Regions from separate parts of the Homo sapiens genome. Here region 1 is linked to region 2. Evidence: promoter capture Hi-C in 16 types of primary human blood cells and fetal thymus (Javierre and others, 2016). All regions are on one chromosome and are shown on one strand. The core of a region is centred on a gene start or on the middle of the fragment in contact, and the rest is flanking DNA. Distances in the headings are between cores, read along the strand shown. Region 1 overlaps LINC01317 (long intergenic non-protein coding RNA 1317). Region 2 holds the start of CRIM1 (cysteine rich transmembrane BMP regulator 1).

Region 1 (6,967 bases), core at 834-3,333, 2.3 Mb before region 2:
CACGAGGCAAACTCTGCAACCAAGTGTAACACGGAAGTAGGTGTCTGTTCCTTCATTTCAGCTGAATCCACAGAGTGGTTTCTGGGTCTGGAGGGCTCAGGCATAGTGGCTGGGGCTTTCAGCCCTTGGATTCTTTGGGAATTTAGTGGTAGCAGATCAAGGAGACAGCGGCTTTGGTTATGGCAGCGTGTGTTCTACAGCAGCTTCATGGACTCTGTGTGAGCTTCGTATCATGTGGGAGAAACTTTATTGTGGATTTTCAGGTATCAGAAAGTTTAGAAGACATTCTGGGAGACAGAATAAGGGATAGAAAAAATAATATAAACCATGTGTGTCAGCTACTAAGTTATTTTTTCTTGGCTCCACATTCACCCTTGTAAATTCACCTCGAGTTGCTGGAGAGCAACTCTGAAACCATGTCTGCTTCCAGCTGGGTCCATGTTAGGCTCTGCCAACAGGAGATACCAGAGGGAGACTTCAGAGCTGTAGGAGAAAAGAGATTTTCTCGTTCATCTTTGCTTCCTGTGAACTTCCTGTCTGCTTGCTGTTCTTGGGGGTGTCACTTCAGCCTTACTTTTTTTTGCCCCAGCTACAGCAGCACCTTCCTATAGAAGCAGCTGAACCCAGATTGAAGTTTCCAGCACCTGAAGAAAAAGCTTCTTTGTCTTGTTCTTAAAAATCTGGGTCTAAGTTCTATGGTGCCCTCCTCCAAGCTCAGAGACACCAGCAGGCCAGCAGTCTTTCCTCAAATGGCTGAGTTTCAGCTTCACAGGATCCCTTGTAGGTTTTAATACTTCCAATCTCTTCCTTTTGTTCCCTGGCTTTTGGAGTGATAGCTGCCTCTTGCAGGTACTATTCTCATTATACTTTAGAGATCTCTTTTTATTCTTTGATTTTTCTAGTTATCAACTACTTATCTAGTTAAGGCATCTTTGTATTAAATTTTCCCTGTTCAAATAACTGATGTGGTTTCTGTCTCTTGCCTGGGCCCTGATGGATACATCATGTGTGTTGATGAGAATGCATTAAACCCACGGACAGGAAGGATACTGCCAGAAATGGTTGTGAAAAGAATTTACCTGCCATCTGGTCCTCTCCATAACATGACTATTTGCTTTCCTAAGGCTGTCAGGAGAATCTCTGTGGGTTCAAAGCTCTTTCTTCCAGAAGGGTCCAGTCCCTTTTATGGGATCACCTGGTTAGGTCAGGTTTACCTAGGATAATCTCCCTTTTGATTAACTCAATGTTGATTTACTTGGCACTTTACTTAAATCTGCAAAATCCCTTCAGCTTTGTCAGCTAATTTAACCTAATCATGGGAGTAAGATCCCTCATATTCACGGACCTACTCATATTCAGGGAGAGAAGATTATACAGAGCATGTGCAATGGGGGTGGGAATCTTGAGATCTACCTTACGATTCTGCCTACCAGAAAGACGGTAATTACCTACCAAGGTGAGTTGGCTTCAACCTCCTGAATCCTGAACATACTTGGGATCATCTGGGCATGGTTAATTTGTATGTTTCTCATTTAAGTATGTAGATTGGAAGCTACTTCAATCTAAGTGATCTCATTTACCCTTCCTCCAGAGTAGACCACAGCTGCTCTAGAACTGAATCGCGAGAGCACATGCTGAGTGAGTTGATTTGGCAATGGACGCATACTCCATTCTATCTGAACGCTAGTTGAAATGGTTTTTGCAATGGCATTGCTAAGCTGAGTTGAAACTAAAATGTTGCAGCTTGTGGAAATCCCAGAGGTGGCAGAAGCTCAGAGTGAATGATTACCTGAAAAGCCAGCATAACCTTTTGCAACATACATAAGTTCACAATATAGATTCATTATAATTTTTCGTCCAAAGTAATGCATATCTTCTATTACCATTATTAGTTTACTAACTAGTACCTTTTATATAGCAAGTATGCAGCAGATATTTGTTAAACCAAATTGCCTTTTCAGAATGGTTGCTTATATGTATCTGAACCAGCACATACACAATTAGAATTACCATGACCTTGAGCTCTCCCAAACTTGCTTTTAAACTATTAAAAGTATAAAAACATCAAATCGCTTTTGTCTAGATAATTATATTTCTGACTAAAGTGACCACTGTACCTTTAGAAATCATGCTCATTTGTCAGTAGCAAGTACTGTAATTATTCACTGTATTGTTCACAAGAGTGAACAACTTGCTTTTTGTCATCCAAAGGCTAAACAAAATAAAATTACCCAATAGCTCTGCAGTGAGTTGCTGAAGGTATTTCATTCCCGTGGTGCTTATGAGTAATCCCATGCATAGAAACAATACCAAAAAAGCATTCTTATCTTTTGAGACAACAATAATTTCCCATAGTTCTCAGGACTCATTTGGTCTTGCCACATTGTTTTCCAAAAAACATTGTTAGTTCCTTGGGTTATTAATAGGAGTTACTGACAAGAAGGTTTCTGTATTAGTTCATTCTTACACTGCTATAAAGAAATACCCGAGACTGGTTAATTTATAAAGAAAAGAGGTTTAATTGGCTCATGGTTCCACAAGGTGTACAGGAAGCATGGCAGCATCTGCTTCTGGGGAGGCCTCAGGGAGTTTTACTCATGACAGAAGGCAAAGCAGGATCAGGCATATTACATGGCAGGTGCAGGACTGGGGGTGGCGGAAGTACTAACACATTTTTAAACAACCAGATCTCGCGAGAACTTTATCACTATATAGTACCAAGAAGGCAGTGGTGCTAAACCGTTCATGAGAACTCCACCCCCATGATCCAATCACCTCCCACCAGGCCCCGCCTCCAACAGTAGGGAATTATGATTTGACATGAGATTTGGTGGGGACACAGATCCAAACCATACCAGTTCCTGTTGCATAGAATGTTGGGAAAGGTAGCATGCTTTGCACTGAACCTACACCCCACCAAAGGATCACAATTTAAATTAGCAATTAAAAAACTCTAAGCCTTCATAAAAACAGGTATTTCTCAGCTAACTTGTCCATAGACACTACTTTTACCCTCCTCAGTGGCTCTGTGGACATCTAATTGTAATCCAAGAAAATAAAGTTGCTGAAATACACTTTGAGGAATGCTAGATAGATTAGCAAGGCATTTAATAACAAGGGTTGTAATTATTTGTTCTAGGCAGAGTTCTTCTAATTGGGGTGGGTGAATTGGGAGAATAAACGTTGATTGAGCACTCGTTACAAATGGAACAGTGCACAACATCTCTTCTTAATGTTTAGCTGTTCCTAGAAGAGAGAGAATCTGAATCCTATTTTGCAAATGCAGATGCTGGGGTTCAAGAGAATAAAACGTCTACAGGCAGTCATGTAGCCTATCACATACAAGGTCTGGGCCCTTGGCACTACTTAACGTGCACTCTCATGTATAGAACCCTCAAAAACAAAATTGCTGACAGCACATTTTCACTTTTGTTATGAAAACATAGATTTCAAGAAAGGGCCCTGTAGAAGTTCTTGGAGAAAAATTAAGAGCCTATTCAAGTCTTCAAGTGAAGCTTTGAATATTGTAGGTTAGGCAGGGACACATCAATACTTTTATTAACTAGGGCCACTGAGGTTGAGAATGATGAGTGCTAGTTGAGCTGGATGTCAGACCAGAATACCGTCTGCCTTTTGAGATGAAATGACCACCTCCAGCTCCTAAAAAGAAACTGTTCCCAAGCTTTATTAATGTTCTGACTCCATCATTTGGATCCTGACTGGGTATGTGCCGCCTTGTGAGATTTTGATTAAAATTGTGCCTTCTGGAATTTTCTCCTTAAAGAAAAGGTAAGTACTCAACCAATCTCTGAAACATGCGTCAGCAATAGTTGATAAATACTTTAAAGATTTTATTTCCCTGAGATATACTGTAAGCAGAACAATTTAGGGAAATAATTTCTTAGGGGAAAAAAACTTATAGCTAGTTTACTGAGGACTCTGACGTATAATGGTAGTCTATATTTTGAGGACTGTCTTCTCTGTATTATATTTTAGGCCTTTTTTTGGAAAAATTGCTCTTGTGCTATAACCTGCTGGAGTGATTTTGAATAATAGTGTTAAGAAAAGGCAGTTTGTTGAGGTTCAGGGTTTTATTTGTTTCAGTTAGTAGGGAGAGCAGTATTAATATGTATTACAATTGCACAGTAAGAAAAACAGGATGTGTTTATTTTTTCCATGGGTATGATATATGATGTGGTTTCAAATCTCAAATGTTACTCAATTTCATATATACGGGCATTTAATCAAGATGGACTTTAAAATATCACATATGATATTACCAATTACTGTTACCATGAAAGGTGAGGAAGATTTCTTTAGTTGAATTATTTATAACCAAAATGGCCCAGATACAGGCTTGCTGCATGCTTTCTCCAGGAAAATGCCTCAGTCACCTTGTCATTGAATGACTGAGCCTTATTTCCCCTGTATTTCATTGTACTCCAACCAGCTCAGCCAAGCACAAAAGTGCAACCCCACAGACAACAGTTCATTGCACTTGGCAAGTCTTCCCATTAAGCAGGAATGTTTACCGTATTTATATTTGTGTATGTACTGTACTCATAAACATGCAAGCTGTACTCATTTCTGTTATGATTTGTGGCTTCTAAAATCAATCAGTCACCTAGATAACAGGCTACCTGGTTTCTTCCCATGCTATGATGAGGTATGAGTATATCTGTCTATGTGTATAGCTCAATGAGATTATTCTCATTTACTGCTACTCATTAGAATTCCTTAGCAATCTTAAAAAAGAACAAAAGCGGGATATTAACAGAACAATTACATCAGAATATCTGGCAGTGGGATGAGGGTATAATTATTTACTTACGTACTTGTTTTAGACTTTTTATTTTGGAATATCTTTAACATATATGTGGAAGTGAAAAAAATAAAATAATGAATCTACAGGATGATGTAACCATTGCTCAGCATCGACAATGTCTGATTCATTGTTAGACTTGTTTTATATATAGCCAACCCCACTTTCACTAACCCTTCCTTTGGGCTATTTGGATAGAAGTCCTAGCTATGACTTCATCTGAAAAATATCTTAGTGTGGATGTATGTGTAGTTAAAAGAGGATAATTCATTGAAAACTTGTAATACCATTAGGACACCAAAAGTTTAACTTACTTCTTTTGTATAATCAAATATCCTGTCAATGTTCGCACTTCCCAGATTGTCCCATATATTTATAATTTGTTGGCTCAAATCAGAATTCAAAGAAGGTATATTTATTGAGATCGGTTAATGTGTTTCTCACATCTTTTAAAATCTATAGCCTACGTCTCCATCTCTTTTTCTTGCAAAAAAGAGAGTGAGTCATTTGTTTGCAGTTTTCCAAAGGGTTAGGAATAATTGAATTTCTGTTACATCATTTCATGTGTTCCTCTGTTCTCTTTATTTCCTGTAAATTGATAGTTAGAGCTAAAAGCTTGGTAGAATTTAAATTGGATCACTTTGGAAAGATTGTTTTGTAAATGTTATTGGGCACACCCATCATTAGGCAAAATATTTCTGGTTGTTTCTCTTTTTGAGATATTAACAGCCTCTGATGATCAATGCCCAGACCCATTTTTGAATTAGTTTACAAAGTGATGCTATTCTAATTCAATTTTTCCTTTTACTTACTAGCTGCAATAGTTCATTCTATAATGAAGTTTTCCATCATCAACTATCTAATTACCCTGAGATTATATAGTTTATACAGTAAAGAAAGGAAAACTCCTTGATTCTTTTCTCTTATTTGCTAGTTTTCAAATGAGACCACATACCAGTTTCTTCCAATGAGGTTTAAAATTTGATATGATGAATGCATGAATTCTTAAATATGTGATATATTTTAATACTTGCAAATATTTTTCTTATTTGTGCTTAAATTGTCTCAACAATGGCCAGGGTATCCTCTTCATTTTGGATTCTGAGCCCTTTGGACACAATCCTAATAGTCACTGCTTTCTTGCTTTCTGGTATGAAGGCTCATCTTAAACATTCCTAAAAACAGCCATTTCTCTAAGAAGCCCTAGTTCCTTTTATGAGGAAATGTAATTAGAGACACAGATCTGATAGCTTGACATGCTCATTGTTACTAGATTGCTCATTTTAGAGCAGTTCACAGTAATATTGAGCAGAAGATACAGAGATTTCCCATGTACCTCCTTCCCCAACACGTGCACAGCCTCTCTTGTTACCAACATTCTCCACCGGAGTAGTGCATTTGTTACAATCTATGAACCTACCTTGACACATCATTATCACCCAAAGTCCATAGTTTACATTAGGGTTCACTTTTGGCATATAGTCTATAGGTTTGGACAAATGTATGATGACATTATCCACCATTATAGTATTATACAGCGTAGTTTCATTGCCCTAAAAATTCTCTGTGTTCTGCCTGTGTATCCATCTTCCCACTCAAACCCTGGCAACCACCAGTCTTTTAATTGGCTCTTTAGTTTTGACTTTTCAGAATGTCCTGAGGTTGGAATCCTACAGTATGTAGTCTTTTCAGATTGGCTTTTTTTCACTTAGTAATACGCATTTAAGTTTCCTGTATATCTTTTCATGGCTTGATAGCTCTTTTCATTTTAGTATTGCATAATATTTTACCTTCTGGATATATTACAGTTTATTCACCTACTGAAGACATCTTGGTTGCTTCCAAGTTTTGACAATTATAAATCAAACTGCTATAAACACTCATGTGCAGGTTTTTGTGTGGACATGTTTTCCACTCCTTTTGTTAAGTACCAAGGAGCTTGATTGCTAGATTCTATGGTAAGAATCTATTTAGTTTTGTAAGAAACTGCTAAGCTGTCCTCCAAAGTGGCTGTACCGTTTTGCATTCCTACCAGCAATGAATGAGTTTCTGTTGTTCCACATTCTTGCTGGCATGTGGTGGTGTTGTTTCTGGATGTTTACCATTCTAGTAGTTGTGTATTGGTATATCATTGTTGTTTTAATC
Region 2 (7,904 bases), core at 5,405-7,904:
TTCTCATTTTCTTATACTTGTTTTTTCCAGCTTTCCAAAAAATGTCTGTAAGCGCAGGATAAATTTCCTTAACCTGTGGAGGGTCTCGATAATTTATTCCCTTTTATTAGTTCAGTTTTATAAAAAACACTCCTTCCTGGGAGAAATTTTTAATTGAGTACATAACACTTTCTTTAAAAACCACACAGCAAATAATTTGCCAGGTTACATGATTTGGCAATTTGTAAGGTTAAAACATTTGGTGATCCACAGCTAAACTCTCCTAATGTTGAACATTTTAAAGGATGGAATGAAATAATAAATGTGAAAGGAATTTTTTATGTTAAAAAAAATTTTAAAGCTTTACAATGTAAGGTGCTTTTAAAGCAAGAAGAAATGGTTTTTAACCTGAAGGGCCTCTACACTGGAGAGATGGGAACTTGTATTAAGTGTTTGAGGAAATTTGCGTGAATAAGTTTCTGGAAGGCAATCTGGCCATGCATGTCAAAGTGGGCATAACTTTTGACCCACAAACAATAATTTCACTTTAGGTATTTGCCAAGGAAAATAATTGGACAAGTGTTTGAAGATTTGGCTTAAAGGAAATATATTGCAGCTTTGTTTATAATAGTGAAAATGTAAAGCACACAAAACCCCTAAACTTATGTTAATATGGAATCAGTTAAATATAATGCAATATGTACATTCAGTGGAATAACAATCAATGGTAAAAAGGATGCAGTTATTGATTCTAAAGATCAATATGCCATGTATATGTGAAAGTTAAAGCCAATTTTGAGGTAGATACATATCCCATTTTATATTTTATACTGTATGGGGAAAATAAACCTTCAAGGATGTGTCACAAATGTTATCAGTGGTTTTATCTCACCTGAGATAAAACCATTATAGGTGATGTTTTTCTTTCTTCTTTTTTTCTTTTTTACTTGTCTGTCTTTTCTCTTTTTTCCCCCAGTGAGCATGTATTTGTTAAAAAACATACATTAGAAGTAATATTGCATAGAGTGGATTCTGTCCCCATACTGCCTAGGTTTGAATTCCAATTTTTCCTTTACTGGAAAAGTAAGAGACAGTGTGTCACTCTGTCACCCAGCCTGGAAGGCAGTGGTGTAATTTCGGCTCACCTCAGCCTCAACTTCACAAGCTCATGCAATCCTGCCACCTTAGCCTCCTGAATACAGGCACATCCCACCATGCCTGGCTAGTTCATTATTATTATTATTTTGTAGATATGGGTTCTCCTTATGTTGCCTAAGCTGGTCTCAAACTCCTGGGCTCCAGCGATCCACCCAGTTTGGCCTCCCAAAGTGCTGAGATTGCAGGCATGAGCCACCGCACCCACCCCAATTTTTCCTTTTAAATAGGTGTAAATGTACCTGTAAAATGCAGTACCTACCTCATCAGCTTTTATGGAGGATTAAATGTGGTAATATTGTAAGGTAATTAAAAAATATGCACATGGCAAACGTTACATAAATATTTGTTATTCAGTAGTTAGGAAAGCAATGATCTTATTTCCATTTTGAGAAAACGCTGATCAGTATTTAAACTTCTCAAAGAAGACAAGATATTGTCATAGATGTTAGCAATTTTAAATGAGGTCCACAAAAAACAACAAAACTGAAAAGAAAAGCAGCTCACCATTACCCAACTTACTGAATTGAGGTAGTTAAACACACAGGCCCTTAAGGCAGAATAGGACTGAGTTCTAAGCTTAATATCCATACACATAGCTCTGAGACCTTGACAAGCCACACAACCTCCTATAACTCAGATTCCTCACCTGTAAAAAATGAAGACAACGTAAGGCACTAGAGATAATAGAAACCATTGGTCTTACAGCGCTCTTCCGTAGATTACTTAAAATAACCTATATGAAGCACTTAGCATGTTGACTAGCAATTAATAAGATCTTTATTAGTGTCAGCTATTACTATTATCATTACCAATTACTGCTCTTTAAAATAAGTCAGAGACCAAAATGAGTCTGAGAAAATATCACAGAGGCTAAAACCCCAAGATGAGACAGACTGTCAAAACAAGGCCAACAGAAGATCCTAAGAAAGAAAAAAAAAAAAGCAAATATCTGATCCAGCAGATGTTGCACAGCAATGGATGCTAAGATAACAGAGAGCAGGGATTCCAGCTCAAGCATAAAACTTGAGGAGACACTCAATTAGAAGGACTCTAAAAATAACAATAGAAAAGGAGAGCAATCATTTTATCCACACGATACCCTGTATGGTTGGTATTCTTGTCTCTGTTTTACAGAGAAGACAGATTCAGAAAGGATAAATACCTTGTTTAAACTTGTACACAGAGAGAGAGAGAGAGAGAGAGAGAGAGAGTGTGTGTGTGTGTGTGTGTGTGTCAGGATCCTAGGCCAAACATCAAAGAGAACCTGTGTTCTGTGCAGATGTCTTGTAAACCTTGTGGTAGTTCTGCAGCAGCTATCATTCACAGGCAGAGTAAATAAGAACCCACTTAGCAAAAATAAGGTATTACGTGGTGATAATAGAGTTCAATTTCAGATTAAGAGTCCAACATCCAGATGGTTGAGCCTCCAAACTAGGGTCTGTCTATATCACTGCAGTGCCAAGCCTAGATTAAGTGAGAACCCATATATAGGTGATCCCAGCTGAGGAGACCAGAGAGATGGCCTAAGAGGGTAAAACGGGCCAGACCTGCTACCCTGGTTTATTCGTACCACTTTCTAATATGTATGCAACGTTTTCATAACACAATGAGGTTTCTTCTCTTGTGCAACTCAATTCCAAGAGTATGTGAGTCAAACTCAAAGGCAACTTCTACATTCTTCTTTTCATTTCAGGAAGAGAAAATACAAAGTGCAACTCAATTCCAAGAGTATGTGAGCCAAACTCAAAGGCAACTTCTACATTTTTCTTTTCATTTCAGGAAGAGAAAATACAGAGTGTGACTATAGGTGGACTAGACACTGTATCGGAAAGGCGGGGTCTAATACTAACATTCTGTCTATTGCCCTCTCATTTCCACTTTCTGCTTAGGCCAACAAATGGGCACTTTGATTTTCGACATTTTCAACAATTTATTAATCCCCAGGATGGCCAATAGAGGGCAGACGATCTCTTCTTCTAGACCTCCATCAGAAATACTTCGTAATTCCTGGTTCGTTGCAGACCTGTTCCCCAACCCCTCCCCCACCCCCCCACCACCCCCACCCCAAACTTCGATGACTCCCTCCTGCCCATACCATCCCTTTCAAGTACTGATTTTGAGGTATTTACTAAAACCAAGAGAGAAGGGCTGCAGACAATAATATTCAAATATCATTTTGACTGTAATTCTTCACTCTCCCTTTTTCAACTCATTCATGCATGCATTTTTATAAATCCTGCCCTCTCCAATAAGCTGACAAGCTAATTGGGTTCAGAGTTATTTAAATAACTATAATGTAACATGATAAATGCTACAAGCAGAGGTACTTACAAATGCTGTAGAACAGATAAAGAAGCTCAAGAAGGCTTCTCAGAAAGGGAGGCCTTTCATGTGTGGCTCTAATTCTTAACATTCGTTCATGACTTTCAGGGTCCATTCAATTTCAGGGTAATTCTTCCTAGTCCACTTTCACCCGTGACACCTGATTGTCATCATGTTGGGCTCACCCAAACTCTTTCTGTAACCATAGTCTGGTCTTTGAAGATAAGAAAATACTTTTGTATTCGAGCCTCAGTATCATTGCCTCAGCTTCTCACTACCTCATTATCATCCCTCCTGGATCCCAGAGAAGAAAGAGCTGTTTCATAACTGAGCTCCTGATTCACACACTGGTTTCAGAAAAGCTGCCAGGACCTTGCAGGTTTCTCATTCGCCACTAGTCACTGGCTTCAAGGAATCCTATTTTCTCTATTGCTTCTATGACTATTAATTTTATGCCAAAGGGCATGTGTAATGTAACTTGATTTTTTTTTTCTTTTTGAGCTGATACAATCATCTTCATCTTAAAGAATCTCCCTAGTCCTTTCTAAACCTGACTTGAATTCCTGTGAGAAGTCAACCTTTCTCATGTTGTATCTGTCCATCTACCTTCCAGGTGGTTCTACTTCTGAAGTCCCAGGAACAATGAATAGTCATCTCCAAATTATCCTTTGCCTGTGCTCATCTGTAGCTTTCCTTAATCCTTAATATATCCCCTTAAAAATAAATAGAAGCTAAACTTTGACAATGCTTATTACCTCCTTCTTTCCTAACCACAGTAGCTTTCTCACTTCTGCCTTTTTCTCATCACCTGACCTTGGCTTTTCCTGCAGGTCCTACAATGTTATCTGCTACATTTTAATGTCTTTATACTTGCATTTGAACAGAAATACAGATAACCTCCTCTGCAAGAGTGGGAGGGACCTTTTAACACAGAGCAATGATGACAGTTTGTTGGCAAATCCCACACTGAAGTGCTGGTGCCTTGTTCGGTGACAAGAAAGAACAATGTTTAACAATGTGTGTTTTATTTTTCTTCAGTTTTTTTGTTTGTTTGTTTTTGAGACAGAGTCTTGCTCTGTCGCCCAGGCTGGAGTGCAATGACGCAATCTCGGCTCACTGCAACCTTCACCTCCTGGGTTCAAGTGATTCTCCTGCCTCAGCCTCCTGAGTAGCTGGGATTACAGGCATGCGCTACCACACCCGGCTAATTTTTGTATTTTTGATAGAGACAGGGTTTCACCATGTTTCACCATGTTGGCCAGGCTGGTCTCGAATTCCTTACCTCAAGTGATCTGCCCACCTTGGCCTCCCAAAGTGCTGGGATTATAGGCATGAGCCACCACGCCCAGTCTCTTCGGTTTTTCTAATAGAAAACCTAGCATATTTTAAACGATTTTGCCACTTAACACTTATTATGGACCCACAGGGTATGAGGGCCTTTGGAGATCATCTAATCGGACTTCCCACCCAACTACAGGAATCATTTCATTGCAACAACTCTTTAAACCCGTCTAGAAAATGCAATGCTCTCTCCCCTTTTCCACGGTTGAACATCTTCCTCATGGCCCTATAATAATCAATGATAATTAATGAGCCTCTTCCTCTCCTTGGACAAAGAAATATGATAGGAGAAATGTTTAGTTTGCTGATGCCCATCATGGGGGAATAGTCCACTGGTAACTCTGGCTTTTGGGTTCAGGATTAGACAGAGTGGTTAAACTAAAATATTTATCGTAAGTATGAATTTGTTCCACAAACATAACATTTCAAAGGTAGCTTTGTTTCCTCTTTCCTTGCACTGCCAGCTATTAACTTTCGGTTCATTAGTCACGATTTTCAGAATCCACTTGGCTGCCACCTTCCTGCAGCCAGACCATCTTGGATCAGAGGGTGGGCCAGCCATTCCCACGTCACACCTGCCACGGGATCGATTTTTTCCCCCATTGACCACAGTCACTTTTTGTCAATTAATTAATGTTATTCACCTGGTACCCATCTTGTGAATGGTAGGTCACTACGGAGCGGATTACTACTTCATATCCCATCAATGACAGAGCCATCATTACGAAAACCTTTTCTGACAACCACTGAAGAGAAACCATCTCCACACCGTGCATTTTGCATCACTTCCGTTGCTTCTTTACCTGATTTATCACAAAGACTATGTACCACACATCTTCTTTATTAATGCATTGACAATCAGTGAAGACAATGAAAACCCACCACTTTTGTCCGTGAACTGAGAAAGAAAATGGCAATGTCATATGGCATTAATGATGCATGAGATCTATGGGTGTAGTGTCACGTCTAGGCGTGTAGTAATCCAGTCTTCGGCCTTACTCCAGGGAGAAAGATTCAGCTTTGTTACTTTCCAGTCACTCTCTCCCGTAACACAGCACCTTGGCACAGAAAGCAGAGCGACAAAACCCAGAATGAGGACAGTTAAAATTCAACTCAAGCTACAGCCATCCCAACGGTCCTCCCCAGCTCCCGCGGAATATTTACCAAGACCGTTTAAAGCACTTAATTAATTCACTTCAGCTTCGCTGGAGAGGTCTCAGGGTTCCCGAGACTCCATTACATAATATCTTTCACAAAGTCTATTCCCAGCTCGAATGGAAGATGGATTCTCATCCAGTGTGCGGAGGTTCCATGCCTTTGCTTCCCTTTCCCGGAGTTCGATCCGGCGATACCCTCCCGAGGCTGCAGCCATCGCCCCGGCCCCGAGCTTCTGGGGTACCCGCCACTCTTCGAACTCCAATCTGGCCCCGAAGGTGCAGCCGCCTCGCCCTCCTGGCTCCCAGGCCGGCCGCTGCGGCCACGGTGCCAGCGAGCGCCCGGGACACCGCGACTCTCGCTGCTCGCTGGGTGCGCCCCAAGCCCATCCGCAGCGCACCCGCGGCGCCGGGGCCAGAGCCGCAGCTCGGTGGCACGGCCGGCTCGGTGCGCCGGGCTCGGGGAGGAGGAGATCGGGAAGAGGTGGAGGCGTGTGAGGGAGGGAGGAAGGGCCCGGCCGCCCGAGAGGGGGAGGGGGAGGCGGAGGGGGCCGGCCGGGCCGGGGAGGGGGGGCAGCCAATGAGCGGCGCGCGGCGCGTGGGGGTGGGGGGAAGGTCTGGGGGAGGAGGTAGGATGGGGGAGGGCGCAGCCCGAGCGGCTGAGGCTCCAGCCATAAACAAGCGCCCGGAGGAGCGGCGCAGGAGTGAGGCGAGCGGGGCGCGCGGAGCGGACGCCGCGGATCTTGTGCTGCGCCACCGCGCCCACTCGGCAGCTCGGGAGGCGGGGACCGGCCCGGAGGCTGCGCCGCTGCGGGGCCGGCCGACTCGGAGGAGGAGAGGGAGGAGGCGCCGCCGGCCCGGGCTGGAGCCGAGCGCAGCAGCCACCGCCGCCGCCGCGCCAGAAGTTTGGGTTGAACCGGAGCTGCCGGGAGGAAACTTTTTTCTTTTTTCCCCCTCCCTCCCGGGAGGAGGAGGAGGAGGAGGAGGGGAAGCTGCCGCCGGCGCCAAGGCTCGTGGGCTCGGGGTCGGCGCGGCCCGCAGAAGGGGCGGGGGCCTCGCCCCGCGAGGGGAGGCGCGCCCCGGGGGCCCCGAGAGGGGCGGTGAGGACCGCGGGCTGCTGGTGCGGCGGCGGCGGCGCGTGTGCCCCGCGCAGGGGAGGGCGCCCGCCCCGCTCCCGGCCCGGCTGCGAGGAGGAGGCGGCGGCGGCGCAGGAGGATGTACTTGGTGGCGGGGGACAGGGGGTTGGCCGGCTGCGGGCACCTCCTGGTCTCGCTGCTGGGGCTGCTGCTGCTGCTGGCGCGCTCCGGCACCCGGGCGCTGGTCTGCCTGCCCTGTGACGAGTCCAAGTGCGAGGAGCCCAGGAACTGCCCGGGGAGCATCGTGCAGGGCGTCTGCGGCTGCTGCTACACGTGCGCCAGCCAGAGGAACGAGAGCTGCGGCGGCACCTTCGGGATTTACGGAACCTGCGACCGGGGGCTGCGTTGTGTCATCCGCCCCCCGCTCAATGGCGACTCCCTCACCGAGTACGAAGCGGGCGTTTGCGAAGGTACGGCCGCCCGCTGCGGGCCCCCTCCCACCTGGCCTGCGCCGCCCCCTCGGCGCTGGTTGTGCCGAACAAAGTTTGGGCGAGACTTTCTGGAGGAAAGAGGGCTCTGCGGGAAGAGGGGCGGCCGCCGCCCCCAGGAGAGTGCCCCCGCGGCCCTGCGTTCCCTCTCCTTGTTCCCCCCGACGCTTAGGCAGTCGCGGGCGAGGTTGGGTATGGTGGGTGGGGGCGAGCGAGTGGAGGATCGCCCCTGTCCCCGCGCAGACGCGCACACGTGTGGCCGTTCCTGCTGGGACTGGGTGGCCCGGCCTTGCTCCCCGAGGTGGGGGCGCCGCGGGCGGGGGGCACTGCAGATTCTGCCGCGCGCGAGCCCCTCGGGGAGCCCGGCCCTACCGCCCTCCCCGCAC

What was found. The method cuts DNA at HindIII sites, captures the fragments that hold promoters and counts their contacts. A CHiCAGO score of 5 or more calls a contact.
Region 1: a fragment that was not itself captured here is called in contact with the fragment with the promoter of CRIM1 in region 2 in 7 of 17 cell types (total CD4 T cells, naive CD8 T cells, non-activated CD4 T cells and 4 more); the score reaches 12.6 in total CD4 T cells.

Annotation. Positions count from the first base shown.
Region 1 is chr2:34,100,238-34,107,204 of GRCh38, forward strand. All of the region lies in intron 4 of LINC01317 (long intergenic non-protein coding RNA 1317), which reads left to right. Among named protein-coding and RNA genes, the nearest start is that of LINC01318, 36 kb to the left of the region's middle. The HindIII fragment of the contact is 2,859 bases long and covers 655-3,513 here.
Region 2 is chr2:36,349,124-36,357,027 of GRCh38, forward strand. CRIM1 (cysteine rich transmembrane BMP regulator 1) reads left to right here and starts at 6,655. Exons shown (of 17, transcript NM_016441.3): 1 at 6,655-7,500. The coding sequence starts at 7,170. It overlaps CRIM1-DT (CRIM1 divergent transcript), which reads right to left and starts at 6,447. Exons shown (of 2, transcript NR_037631.1): 1 at 5,965-6,447; 2 at 5,626-5,858. The HindIII fragment of the contact is 11,087 bases long and covers 1,712-7,904 here.